2 separate regions of the Homo sapiens genome follow, and region 2 is linked to region 1. The links are contacts of gene promoters, found by promoter capture Hi-C in human tissues and cell types (Jung and others, 2019). All regions are on one chromosome and are shown on one strand. Each heading gives the region's core, a stretch centred on a gene start or on the middle of the fragment in contact. The rest is flanking DNA. Distances are from core to core; before and after follow the strand shown. Region 1 holds the start of ST8SIA2 (ST8 alpha-N-acetyl-neuraminide alpha-2,8-sialyltransferase 2). Region 2 has its middle 13 kb from the start of FAM174B.

The links. The method cuts DNA at HindIII sites, captures the fragments that hold promoters and counts their contacts. A contact is called where the count stands out against the background at its distance.
Region 2: a contact is called between a fragment that was not itself captured here and the fragment with the promoter of ST8SIA2 in region 1, in 2 of the 25 tissues and cell types used here (heart left ventricle and neural progenitor cells).

What each region holds. Positions count from the first base shown.
Region 1 is chr15:92,390,094-92,396,076 of GRCh38, reverse strand. ST8SIA2 (ST8 alpha-N-acetyl-neuraminide alpha-2,8-sialyltransferase 2) reads right to left here and starts at 2,196. Exons shown (of 6, transcript NM_006011.4): 1 at 1,915-2,196. The coding sequence starts at 2,012. The HindIII fragment of the contact is 17,571 bases long and covers 1-5,983 here.
Region 2 is chr15:92,666,132-92,671,995 of GRCh38, reverse strand. No RefSeq gene overlaps it. Among named protein-coding and RNA genes, the nearest start is that of FAM174B, 13 kb to the right of the region's middle. The HindIII fragment of the contact is 4,660 bases long and covers 34-4,693 here.

The sequences.
Region 1 (5,983 bases), core at 947-3,446:
GAGCACTCAAGTGAGACAAGTCCCCGGGGTGCGTACATATATGGGAACAACCTGATGTGGGGAGCGTAGGCTTCACCGTGCATTTGGCAAGAAAGTGCAACATTATGTGCAAAGTGATCTCCTGATTGCATTTTAAAAATTAAAAGTTCCCAGCATGTGGAAGGTATTTGGTAAGAATTCAGTGAATGGCTGACCTAGGGGTGCCTGGATAAGCACAGCACTTATGTTTTTATAACAGGACAATGGGCAGCGCCGGGCCTTCCCTCTCACATGGGCAAAGGTCAGCAAGTGATCTGAGCCGGGCAGTGCCCACATCCGGAATCAGAAGCCGGAGAGCCTAGAGGAAGGCCCTCCTCACCGCATCTTCCATTACCCCAAGACGTGACTTGCCCGATTTCCTTTCCAATCCACGTTTCTGAGGCGAGCAGCTATGAAAAGTAGCATGTTTATCTCTGCGTGGGAATTGGTGGCACGTTGTGTATTAACTGCGCAGCATTTGTGAAAGTTTTCAGAGCTCTTGGGGAAACCGAGAATGAGAGGAGAAAGAGGCAGGGAGAGGGGTTCTGGAAGCCCAGCGGAGTTCACAGAAGGAATTCCAGGGAGATGGGCAGGGGCAGGGAGAAAATGAGAGCAGGAAGCGGCACTTGTCACAAGTTTTTGTCCTTGGGGCCTCGGCATCCCGCCTGGGCCCAGGACTGGCATCTCCCATTTGAGGGACTGACAGTGTGGCGGACCCTCAACTAGCACAGATAACAAATGAAGTAACAAATGGGACAAAGGAGGGGCGCACGCGGCGCGGGACTCGAGAAGAGCGCCTGGCAGAGCACAAATCCCACAGAAGAAGAGACCTTCTGCCCTCTTTGAGACCTCACCTTCCCCTTGCCCAGGGCCAGGAAGCTCTCCTCGGGCCTCCTCAGAACCCCGGCTGCCTCCCCACCTGTCGTCTACCGCCCTTTGGAGGTTCCGGAGAGGGGCCCGGCCCGGCGAGCCGAAGGCTGCGGGGCGGGGCGCGAGTCTCAGCCCCTGGGACACACAGCCGGTGCGTCCCGCGCCTCAAGTGCGCACTCCAGGAAGTCCGGAGCCGGGAGGATCCGGGCTCGCGGTCCCACCCTACCTCTGGCGAGGTCGGGAGAAAAAAAGCGCCAGATCGCCCGCCTGAGGGCCCAGAAGCCCACCGGGCGGCGGTACAGACTTTCCCGAAATGTCTCCGTCTCCGCGCTGCGAGCGCACAGGAACCCAGGGTCGCCGGGGTTGCCGTGGCTTGGCTGAACGTCCAAAGCCAGGCGAGGGCGGGGGGTCTCAGTCCAGCTATGCGAGCCCTTCTCTAGTGGTGCCAGCTCCTACGCCGGGCTCCCGGGCCGGCGGGAGGCGCGTGTGCCTGTCTGTGTGTGCAGGGGACATTCCGCTTCCCAGTAGCCCATGCAGAACCCCGCCCTCCGCTCCGGCCCCAGGAACCCCTCCCCCAGCTCAGAGATCCCTGCGCGCCCCCTGCCCACTTTGCCAAGGCGAGAAAGCGGCCGTGCTGGAGACAAAGAAACTCCTGCCTCCCTCCACTCTCGGCCCCTCCGCCCGCCCGAGACACTCCCCGGCGCCCTCCCTCGACCCCGGCGACACTGCGCTTGGACACGCCAGGCAGGGGGGCAGGGTGGGCGAGTCCGCTTCCCGACGCGGGCCAGCTGGGGGCTTCCCGTGAACCCCGCCCGGGGACACCCCACAGCAGCCGCGCCCCCACCCTCCTCTCCCCAAACCGTCCCGGGCCCCTGTCGCCGCCACCTTCTGCCAAACCGTCCCCATCTCTCCAGCGGAGCTACAGCGGGGCGCGGCGCACACAAAGGGGGTCGGAGGGTGGAGAGTACAGAAGGAGGGAGAGATCCCGCCAGGGCTCGTGGCACGGGCCTGGGAGCAGCTATTTACCCGATTTCTTCTTCGATCTCTGAGATGTCTGCGAAGATGAGGAAGACCACGAGCAGCGTGAGCGCGGCCAGCATCCAGCTCCGGAACTGCAGCTGCATGGTGGGTTCGCGCCCGCCGGGACCCACGCGGGCCGGCGCGAGGAGCAGGGGCCGGAGGGCGCAGCGGCGGACGCCGGAGCCTCCGCGCGCCGCGCGCAGCTGGGCAGACACCCTGCGCTCCGGACGAGTCCGGGCCGGCGGCGGCAGCGGCAGCGGCAGCGGCAGCGACAGGCAGGGGTTGCTCAGGCGCGGCGAGCCCGCTCGCTCCCTCCCGGCTCCCGCCTGCCCCTCCCTCCCTCCTCTCCCTTCCCCCGCCCCGCGCCCGGCTCCGCGCGCAGTTTGACAGCTTTGCTCCGCGCCTCTGCTCGCCTCCTCCCACCAACTCCAGCGTCCAGGCGCTAGCCTTTGCTTCTCCCGCCTGGCTTTATTCAGCTCCCGAGGGCGCGGGGATGCAGCCGGACGCCACTCCTGGCCTAGAGAGACTGGGCTCTGGCCACCGCGAGCGACCGGGTACGGAGCTGAGCCCAGGGAAGTGCGCGCACCGCCCGGCGCACCCCTCAGGCTGGCAAACGCCCTCCCTCGCCCGCTCTTTGTCCAGCTCCCTCGCCTCCTCGCAAAGTTTTCTCGACACAAAGACCAACACCTGGGGACAGCCCCCAGCGCGCGGCGAGAAGGCGGTTTCAGCCAGGCAGATGTTTCAGCAGTTGATGAATTAGGAGGGGAGGTGGGGGAAGGGGAGGAGAGAAGAAATATCCAAGACAGGCCAACTTCAGTGAAGATGCTGACTACAGTTTGTGGGCGAGGCTCTCAGCCCTCGAGAAACCACTCCCTCCAGGTGCTGATCTTTATCTCCATTTATAGACCCGATACTGGGTCGGGAGAGCTCTCCGAGCTGCCCCCAGATCACGCAGTCCTGGCTGGAACCCTCGGCTAGAACCCCAATGGGAGACTCAGCGCCCGCCTTCCCTCCGCCCTCGCGGTGCTGACGCCGGGTGGCCTTCATCTCCCCAGTTCTTGGACTCTCAATGACCCTAAGATCAATAACCGCGGGAGGCCTGTCTTGATCAAAATGCCTTCTAGAAAAATATGGCTCCCACAAGGGGTAATGCCCCCCACCCTTCCGAATATTGTACACTTTCACAGCCTTAGACAGTTTAAGTCAAATTACATTTCACACCAACCATTGGCCAGGGGTGGGAAGGGCCCCATTAAGTTTTACTGGAATTAGATAATTACCTTTTATTTTCTTTGCACGAATTGGAACAATTCCTGAAATTAAGAAATGTAACTTTCCAGAAATGATCATCTGGTTTATGAAAGGGTCCTTTGGGTTTGAGTGTGGGGAGGAGGAGTCCTGTTGGAGAAGCTACATGGAATGTCCTAAGTGCTGGAAACCACACCCCAGTGAATGGGAGGGGCGTGTCGGCCTTATCCCCTGGACCACTCAGAGGAGTTTGGCGAGGGGCTGGCAGCAGCCAAGTCCCTTCATGGCGCCCCCGGGGATGTAAGAGGGCCTTCTGATTTTCTACCAAAGTACTGCTTGTGCCCAGAGCCCTTCTGCCCCTTCGTGTGTAAGGAGGGGCAGGAGGGAGGCTTCCAAGCCGGGGGCTGCTGCCCTTGTTGACCCTGGGAGCCAGGGCAGGCTCTCCCCTGCAGGAAGAGGTCCCATCACCCAGCCTGGAGAATGGATTAGGGAAGCAGCACAGCGTCAAGGGAGAGCTCTGCCTCACCTCCTTTGAGGAGTGCCAGGAGCAGATGTCTTTTCCCCAGAGGAAGCGTGTACTAATTCCCACCTCAGCGCTTCATTTCCTTCCCATTCCTTGGCGAAGTCAGCGCACCCTGCTCCTTTTACAGTAAGCACTTCGAAAATACCATGTATTTTTCTTGGGGTGAGGTTTTTCTGATGTGGAGAACAATGTTGGACGTCACTCTCCCTGTCTGTTAGAGGCAGGGATGAGACGTCAAAGGAGAGTTTCCCATCAGTGTGGCTGGCACGGGGTCTAACCATCCTTATTTCAAGTTTTCAAAATGCCAAAATCTTTCCCTTTGTCTTGCTTGAAGGGTGGTTTAGGAGGTGTGGAGTGGTTTTTGTCATCATTTTGCCTTGTTTTTCTGAAGGGAATGGTTGGGATACCTGAATAGGGAGAGGAAAGTACAGGATGCGCCTGGTATGCTGCTCTGTATTTGAATCGCTCCTCCACTCACTCCAACGTGCAGCAATATTTAACCTACCTTGTACCAGGCTCTGTGCTAGGAGCTAGAGACACCAAGTGGAGAGAGACACCTCGGGTTTCCTGCCCTCTAGTGGCTCACTGTTCACAAGGGAGACAGACATTCAGGTGTCTAATTATGATAGGGGATTTGAGCTGCAGTAGACCTAAGGTCTCCTGGCTCACTTATAATTGATTAATAAGATCCCCCAAAAGAGCAAGAAGAAACTGACCTTTCTCTCCTCTGTTCTCTGCTTCTCTGCTTCTCTACCTACTGCACTCTTACCATGCAGAACATCATGGAAGTGTTGCCGTGGTACTAAATTCACCAGGTCGGGTCAACCTCATTGCTGCAAGCACAATTACAACAGAGTCTATTTCCATTTCCTGTTAGGTGACCCACGATTACAGCAGAATCTATTTCCGTTTCCTGTTAGGTGGCCCATGTTCTCATCCCAGGCTCAGTCTTCCTTCTTTGCACCCACCAGACCAGAGTCATATGAGTGGACAGGAAACAGTGGAAGCTTTTGTTGAATGGTTCGATTCCATATAGAGAGATCCCTGTAATCAGACCCACAGAGCAATATCTCTCAAGTATACCTGCTCGGAAGTAGAGCTAGCTTCCTCACATAGACGCTGTCCTTGCGATGAGAGTCACTGAAGTGGGATTTTTCTTGGAGGGTGATGGGGGACCCTTGTGATCGTTGACTATAGAATACCTGCTATCTGTGATCACTTAGGTTTGGGTCTCGTTGGGCCAGCTCCTTTAACAAGTGATTGTGTACATACACCACCCGTTGCTGCCTCTGCAAAAATGAGTTTGTTCCTGGAATCTGGAAAGAGGAAGACTGATGAGATTGGTGGAGAATGTCAGACTGGTGATGTGAACTGCCACATGGGCATGTGCTTGGCTTGGCCACCCTGACCCCTCCCCTCCTGCTTACCCCTCTGTTTAAGCAAGTCTCTTTTCCTGCCTTGGATTTTCCAAGAAGCCCGAAGGTCCTACAGCCATCACTTCTGTAGACTAAGTCATTGAATGTTTGGGTTAAAATGAGGAAGTGGTGGCAAATTAAAGGCCATTACCACCCATTAACATTTTAACTCAAATTAATTGAGTATATAAGCTATTCAGGCAACTGGTAAGGCCCTGGGCAGTTTGTAGTAATGAGGGACAGAGGGCCAAGAGGCTTTTCAGAAGCTCAAAGGAGCCCAACAGGGTCACACATGGACACCCCTTCCTTGTGTCTGACACTGGCTGAGGGCATGTTTGTCCTTCTAGCTGCAACCTGGAGAATGGGGAACCACCCAAAGCCTGAATTCGTGGAAACTCTAAAACTGTATCTACCATTTACACATAGGGCTAAACTCCCCCTCTCCACCCCAGCTATGCAGAATCTTCACCTGAGCGACTTCTTGGGAGTAGTAAGGTCTGTATTGATAATAACTTGTCCAAGTGACTGGCTGGAAATGGGGGCAAGTCGGACGGGGGAGGGAGCAAGGGGGAATGGAGCTAACATTTGGGAGTGCACACAAGTTCAAGGCGCTGGCCTGGGCTATTTCTCTGATTTAATCCTGGCAATCCTTTCATATAGATATCATTATCTCCCTTTTACATTTGAGGAAACTGAGGCTCAAAGAAGCTGATTTCCTACCCTGACCCAGCAACATGTGGGACTGTGGGATGGCCAATATCCTCTTCCGCACGTGGGGCAATTCTAAATAGATTTGTAAACAGGCATCTTCTTTAATTCTGACTATGTGCCCTTAGTTCTGGCATGTGAGGATTCTGGGAACAAATCTATCTTCACTCACTGCACACCC
Region 2 (5,864 bases), core at 1,114-3,613, 280 kb before region 1:
TATTGTTGGCTTAATAATGAAAAGATGCAGCCTTGGGTCTAGTTTTATATCTATTGCTGTATTTTGACTTTAATAATATCCATGCAAAGACTGTCTCTTATTAGAATGAGGCACACATGGTATTTAACGTCAAGGCTGTATTTGCTACTGCTGGACAATCAGGCACTATATGGCCCTTGATAAATGTGTACATGGCTCACATTCACTTAAGGATATAATTAGCATTATAGCTTTATTAAAATCTACCTCAACTGGGGTTTCTCTTCCCATTTTTTTTGGAATGGGAGAAGAAAATATCTTAGTAAATGTATATTTACTACTCACTGCTAATGAACTGCTGCAAACACTTACGTTTTGACAGGATGCACAAACTGCATCTGTTTCTGCAGCTAATTTGAGACTAACAACTACTTGCTGGTCATTTGGAGTCTGTTTTGCTTCAATTGCTTTGTGCCATGGGAGGATTTGGTTCCCTGCTTGGTCCTTCTATCTGAACTAATTCGAAATCTGTATGTGTGCATTGCCTTTACACAACTCAAAGATCAGCTAGGTGTGGTGGCTCACGCCTGTAGTTCTAGCTACTCAGGAGGCTGAGGAGGGAGGATGGCTTGAGTCTGGGAGTTCGAGGCTGCAGTGAGCTATGATCATAACACCGCACTTCAGCCTGAGTGACAGTGAGAGCCCTGTCTCACAAAGCAAACAAATGAAAACCCCTCAAATACCGAATTTTGTAGGGGCACTCAAATCTTGCAGTCTTTTATAAAGGGGCAACCAGTTAATGACAATAGTAATATTTTTAGATTATTAGCAAATTGAAAATGCAAAGAAAAAAAATCCTCATACAGAACTGGCGGGTCCCTGAGAACATGTCTGTGGACTCCAGTTTGAGAAACACTGGCTAGAAAATGGAACCATCTGTCCCCTTAAGGAAGACACAGATGAAGTGACCTCTTTTTCATTTCTTCAACTTCCTGGGGGAATATCAAGCTGTGAAGGCTCTGAAGGGATAGGCAAGCTGTGAAAAGCTGTTAGGAACTTGGGGACAGGCCAGGAATGGTTAGGGAGCTGAGAATTCTCCAGTTCCTGCCCTGAAGACAAAGTGAAGGGAACAGAGGGTATTAAACACTTGCGGTTGACAATAGCTAGAGTAGGGATAACTTTGGAAAGACCCAGTACAGCAATTAAGAGGTAAAGAGCCACAACCCAGTGCCCTAAGGCAGAAGTTCTCAACTGGCTGCCTATTAGACTCCTCAGGGGAGCCCTTTAAACGTGCTGATGCATGGATCCATCAAAGATTTGAATTAATTGGCCTGGAGTTGAGCATCAGTGTTTGTAAGGTCCTCCAGGGGATTCTAATGTGCAACCAAGGTGGCTGATCCCTGTCCTAAGGGAAGCCTTCTCTGTGGTATAATTACATTTAAGGCCACCTGTATTAATTTGTTTAATGGGGAGAAGGGAACAAACCCTTATTGAATGCACTGTGCTAACTCTTTAAAAAAAGTGAATATAAATAGCAGCTAACATTTATTGAAAGCTTGTTATATGCCTGGCATTGTGTTAAGCACTTCATATGCTTTTTTTTTTTTTTTTTGAGATGGAGTCTCCCTCTGTTGTCCAGGCTGGAGTGCGGTGGCGCGATCTCGGCTCACTGCAAGCTCCGCCTCCCGGGTTCACGCCATTCTCCTGCCTCAGCCTCTCGAGTAGCTGGGACTACAGGCGCCCGCCACCATGCCCGGCTAATTTTTTGTATTTTTAGTAGAGACGGGGTTTCACCGTGTTAGCCAGGATGGTCTCGATCTCCTGACCTCGTGATCTGCCCGCCTCGGCCTCCCAAAGTGCTGGGATTACAGGCGTGAGCCACCGCGCCCAGCCCCTACATGCATTTAATCTTTACAACATTCTTACGAAATTGGTATTATGTCCATTTTACAAATGAGGAAACAGAGGCCGAGACCAAGAAATTTGCCTTCAATCATTCAGTAACAAACAAATATACAAATGAAAATAATAACTTGCCTAAGGTCATACAGCGAGGGGATGGGATCCGAACCACGGCCTTTAGTTCCTCCACTGCCTCCACACTACCTCAATAATGCGTTCAGCACCTATTTATTGAGTATGGGCTATATAAGTGCCTGACACCAGGATAGGTGTTGGGGACACGAAGATGATCAAAGTAAGCTTTCTGCTGCCTCCAATCTTATCAGAAAGACAGCTAACTCCAAAACAATGTGATCTGTGCTATTAGAGTTGCCCTTGTTTGCCCCGGACTCTCCTAGTTTTAGCACTGAAAGTCTCACATTCTGGGCAACTTCTTCATTCCTGCCTGGACTGGGACAGCTGGTCCACCTTAACTGTCCTAGAGGAATGTGTGTGGGCAGGGGTGAATTTGTATGGGGTGGTGGGGGATTGTGCAGAAGAGATTAGCAAAATCTTCACAAAGGAGCTTATGTCTTGTTTGTAGAATGATTAGGAGGAGTTCTTTAAGCAAAAAATGGAGAGGAGAGGGTTAAGGAAGAGCATTCCTGGTGGAAGAACCAGGGAGCAGTTTAGGCAAAGGCTCGGATGGAAGGAGTTTAGTAAAGTTAAGAGTTTGGGGTGCTGGGAGGTAAGGGTTAGATGAAGCTAGGAGTTTAGTGAATTTAGAGTTTGGGGTGCTGGGAGGTAAGGGTAGATGAAGCTAGGAGTTTAGTGAATTTAGAGTTTGGGGTGCTGGGAGGTAAGGGTAGATGAAGCTAGGAGTTTAGTGAATTTAGAGTTTGGGGTGCTGGGAGGTGGGGGTGGGGAAGCTGGGCCCATACTAAGGAATTAGGACTCTACTGGCAGAGTTTAAACCCCATAAGGGTTTTCAGCAAGGGAGTATTATGCTTGATTTTGCATTTGGACAGATCACTCTGATTACGATGTTAGGGTGGGAATTCTCCTGAAGAGAGGAGCCTGGAGTCTTGGAGAACGGTTGGAAGGATGTTATAATACAGGTGACACATGAGGACAGGAAAGAACAACAATAAGAAACATAATATGTAATGTTTATTGATGACTTAATACGTACCAGTTATTATGCTAAGTTCTCTACATGTGCTATCTCATTTAATCCTAATGATAAGTGAGCTGCTATCTTTATGCCCATATTACAGGTGAGGAAATTGAGACTTAAGGTTTAATTTAGTGCAAGTTACACTGAGAGTAAATGGCAAAGCCAAGATTCCAGCTCTTGCCTTCTGACTTTAAATACGTGCACTCAACTCCTGTTGCTTGCTATAAACTACGGCAGTAGGTACTTATCCATTCAGTCCAGCAACATTTATTGAGCACTTACTGTGTGCCAGATACATTTCTGGTTGATGAAGAAATAGCCAATGAACAAAACAGACACAACTCCTGATTTGATGGACATTACGTGTGTGTGTGTGTGTGTGTGTGTTTTGAGAGACGTATAAACAAACAAGTTACACTAACTTACTCGTGGTTGGATTTGGACTGTTTCTGGAGAGAAGAGGAAGGACTTAGTAATGGGGGGATTGTAGGGGGACCCCTAGGTTCCTGCCTCCGCCAAGTGCAGTGTGGTGGCCAGCAGAGCGTAGGAGCTCTGGAGGTAGGGCAGGTTTTGGGGAACGATGAAGAATCTTGTGTGGGACATGCTGGGTACCTGAGAACCCAGGGAGAGGGGCCAGAGTGAGAAAAGAACTCAGCAGGAAGCCCTGGGGACTGAGTTAAAAGGGAGAGGAGCCAGCTCCCGAGAGAGGGGACAGAGAGGTCAGAGGGAAGATAGAAAACTGGAGACCTCCAAGGCAGGAAGCCCTGGCATCATCAAATGCCACTTAGAGGTTCAGGGAGGGCAAAAGGGAGACACACAAAGTTGTAGGCTCTCCCCTCCCGCTCCCCCTCCCTCCCTCCCATTCCCCCTCCCGTTCCCCCTCCCTCCCTCCCTCCCTCCCTCCCTTCCTTCCTTCCTTCCTTCCTTCCCCTCTCCTCTTCCCCTCTCTCTCTCTTTCTCTCTCCCTCTCTCCCTCTTGGTTTCTCTTTTCTTTTCTTTCTCAGTGAGAAACCAGAATGGGAAATATCTACTGGAGGGTGAAGATACAGGAGGAAGCAGAGGTAATGCGTGAAGCAGAGCCTCAGAGGAGGTGGAGGAGGGTTGAACTCAGGGCCAACGTGTGGGGGCTGGTCTCAAACAGGAGGGTGTATCCCTGAGGCTGGAGAGGAGTGAGAAAAAAATGGTCAGGAACGCAGAGCAGCGCCTCTCGGGAAGTGGCTGCCAACGTTACTTGTGAGGTGGAAATGTCCAAAGTGGGTCTAGGATGCATCAACACAGGGGTGAAGGTTTGGGCTCCACACTGTGGGGAACAGGAGAAACAGCCATCCACCCGGGGCCATCCCCAAACTGACCTTTTCTGTGTCCCTAACCCTCAGAGGCCCGAGCTCTGCCTGGGAATTAAAACACAAATTCCTGCAAACGTGAGGTCTAACTCCACTGTCACGGAGAGGCTGACGATGCCAGCTGTGGGAATTGCAGTGGGGACAGGTATGGAGAGGATGTTTCTGGACATGGGAGTGACTGCCACTTGGAGCTGCAGGCAGAAGCAACAGCTGGTGTGTTTTCCTGAGCAGGTTGGGGGATGGCTCAAAATCAATATTTACTTTACAAACAGCCATCCGGAGGGTGAACCGCCCTGCCTCTCACCCTCAGCTTTTCTGGGGAAAGATGTCTGTGGCCTGCTTAGCTCTGCCCTGCTGGTCTTCGCCTCTCGATCCAAAGCAACTTTGATGTGTATGGGAAAAGTACTGCACTGTGAAAGGAACTGTGGACAGATGGTCCACCTGAGCTCAAAGGTGGGGTCCCTCCACGTATGCACCTCAGGACTTTCCATCCTGTGGGAATCTCCTAAAAAGTTGCTCCATGGGTGGCACTCTCTGAGCAGCACGATTGGTGGGGAGGGCTCTGTCAGCAATATTATGTCGTCACTGACGTCTGCAGGCTCTCCTAGGGGACACTTCAGAAACTTTCATAGAAATATTTCTCTTTGGCAACAGCTCGCTGTTTCCATGGTTTGACGATACTAGCCAGCTGTAAAGTAGGCCAGCACGGGAGAGGGCGGCCCTGGGGACACGGGCTGCATGGCACGCTCATTTCCAACCCTGGGGCAAGTCAGATAACCTCATTAGGTCTCCATTTCCTAATCTTCAAAATGGAACAACAGTGTGAGCCTCAGTGGCCTGGTGTTGTGAGAATGAGGATTAAAGAACTGCAAATTTTTGAGTTTTTTTGGTGAATAATTGTGAAGTCTTTTGGAGGACATATTTCAGAAACAAATGAAATAATAAAGCAGACCTTAAATGTATTGATATAAATTTTGCATAGGTCCAGTAACCTTTTCTTTGCTACGCTTAGTGATCTACTGATTTAAAAAGAGTCCTCTCATATGATACTGACAGAACATTTTTAACCTATTTTTTTTTAACCAGCAATAAGTTTACATAGTTCAACATTCCAAATGCATGAAGGGATACAGTTACTATTCCCTTTCCTGCCCCTGTTCCAGCCATCCAGAGTTCCCCTGCCTAGGTAGGGTGACCAACTGGTCCTGCTTTGTCTAGGACTTTCTGTTTTAGCTCTGAAATGTCCTCATCCCAGGAGACTCCTGAAACCCCAGCAGACTGGGATGGTTGGTCACCCTCTGCCATAGGCAACCAACATTATGAGTCTGTCATGTGTCCTTCTGAAGATATTTTGACAACAGCAATGTTAGTATTAAAAAAAATCCTTTTAGGTAAAGAAATAAAATGTCTTTCTCATAAAACACTAATGCATGAGGCTGGGCATGGTGGCTCATGCCTGTAATCCTAGCACTTCAGGAGGCTGA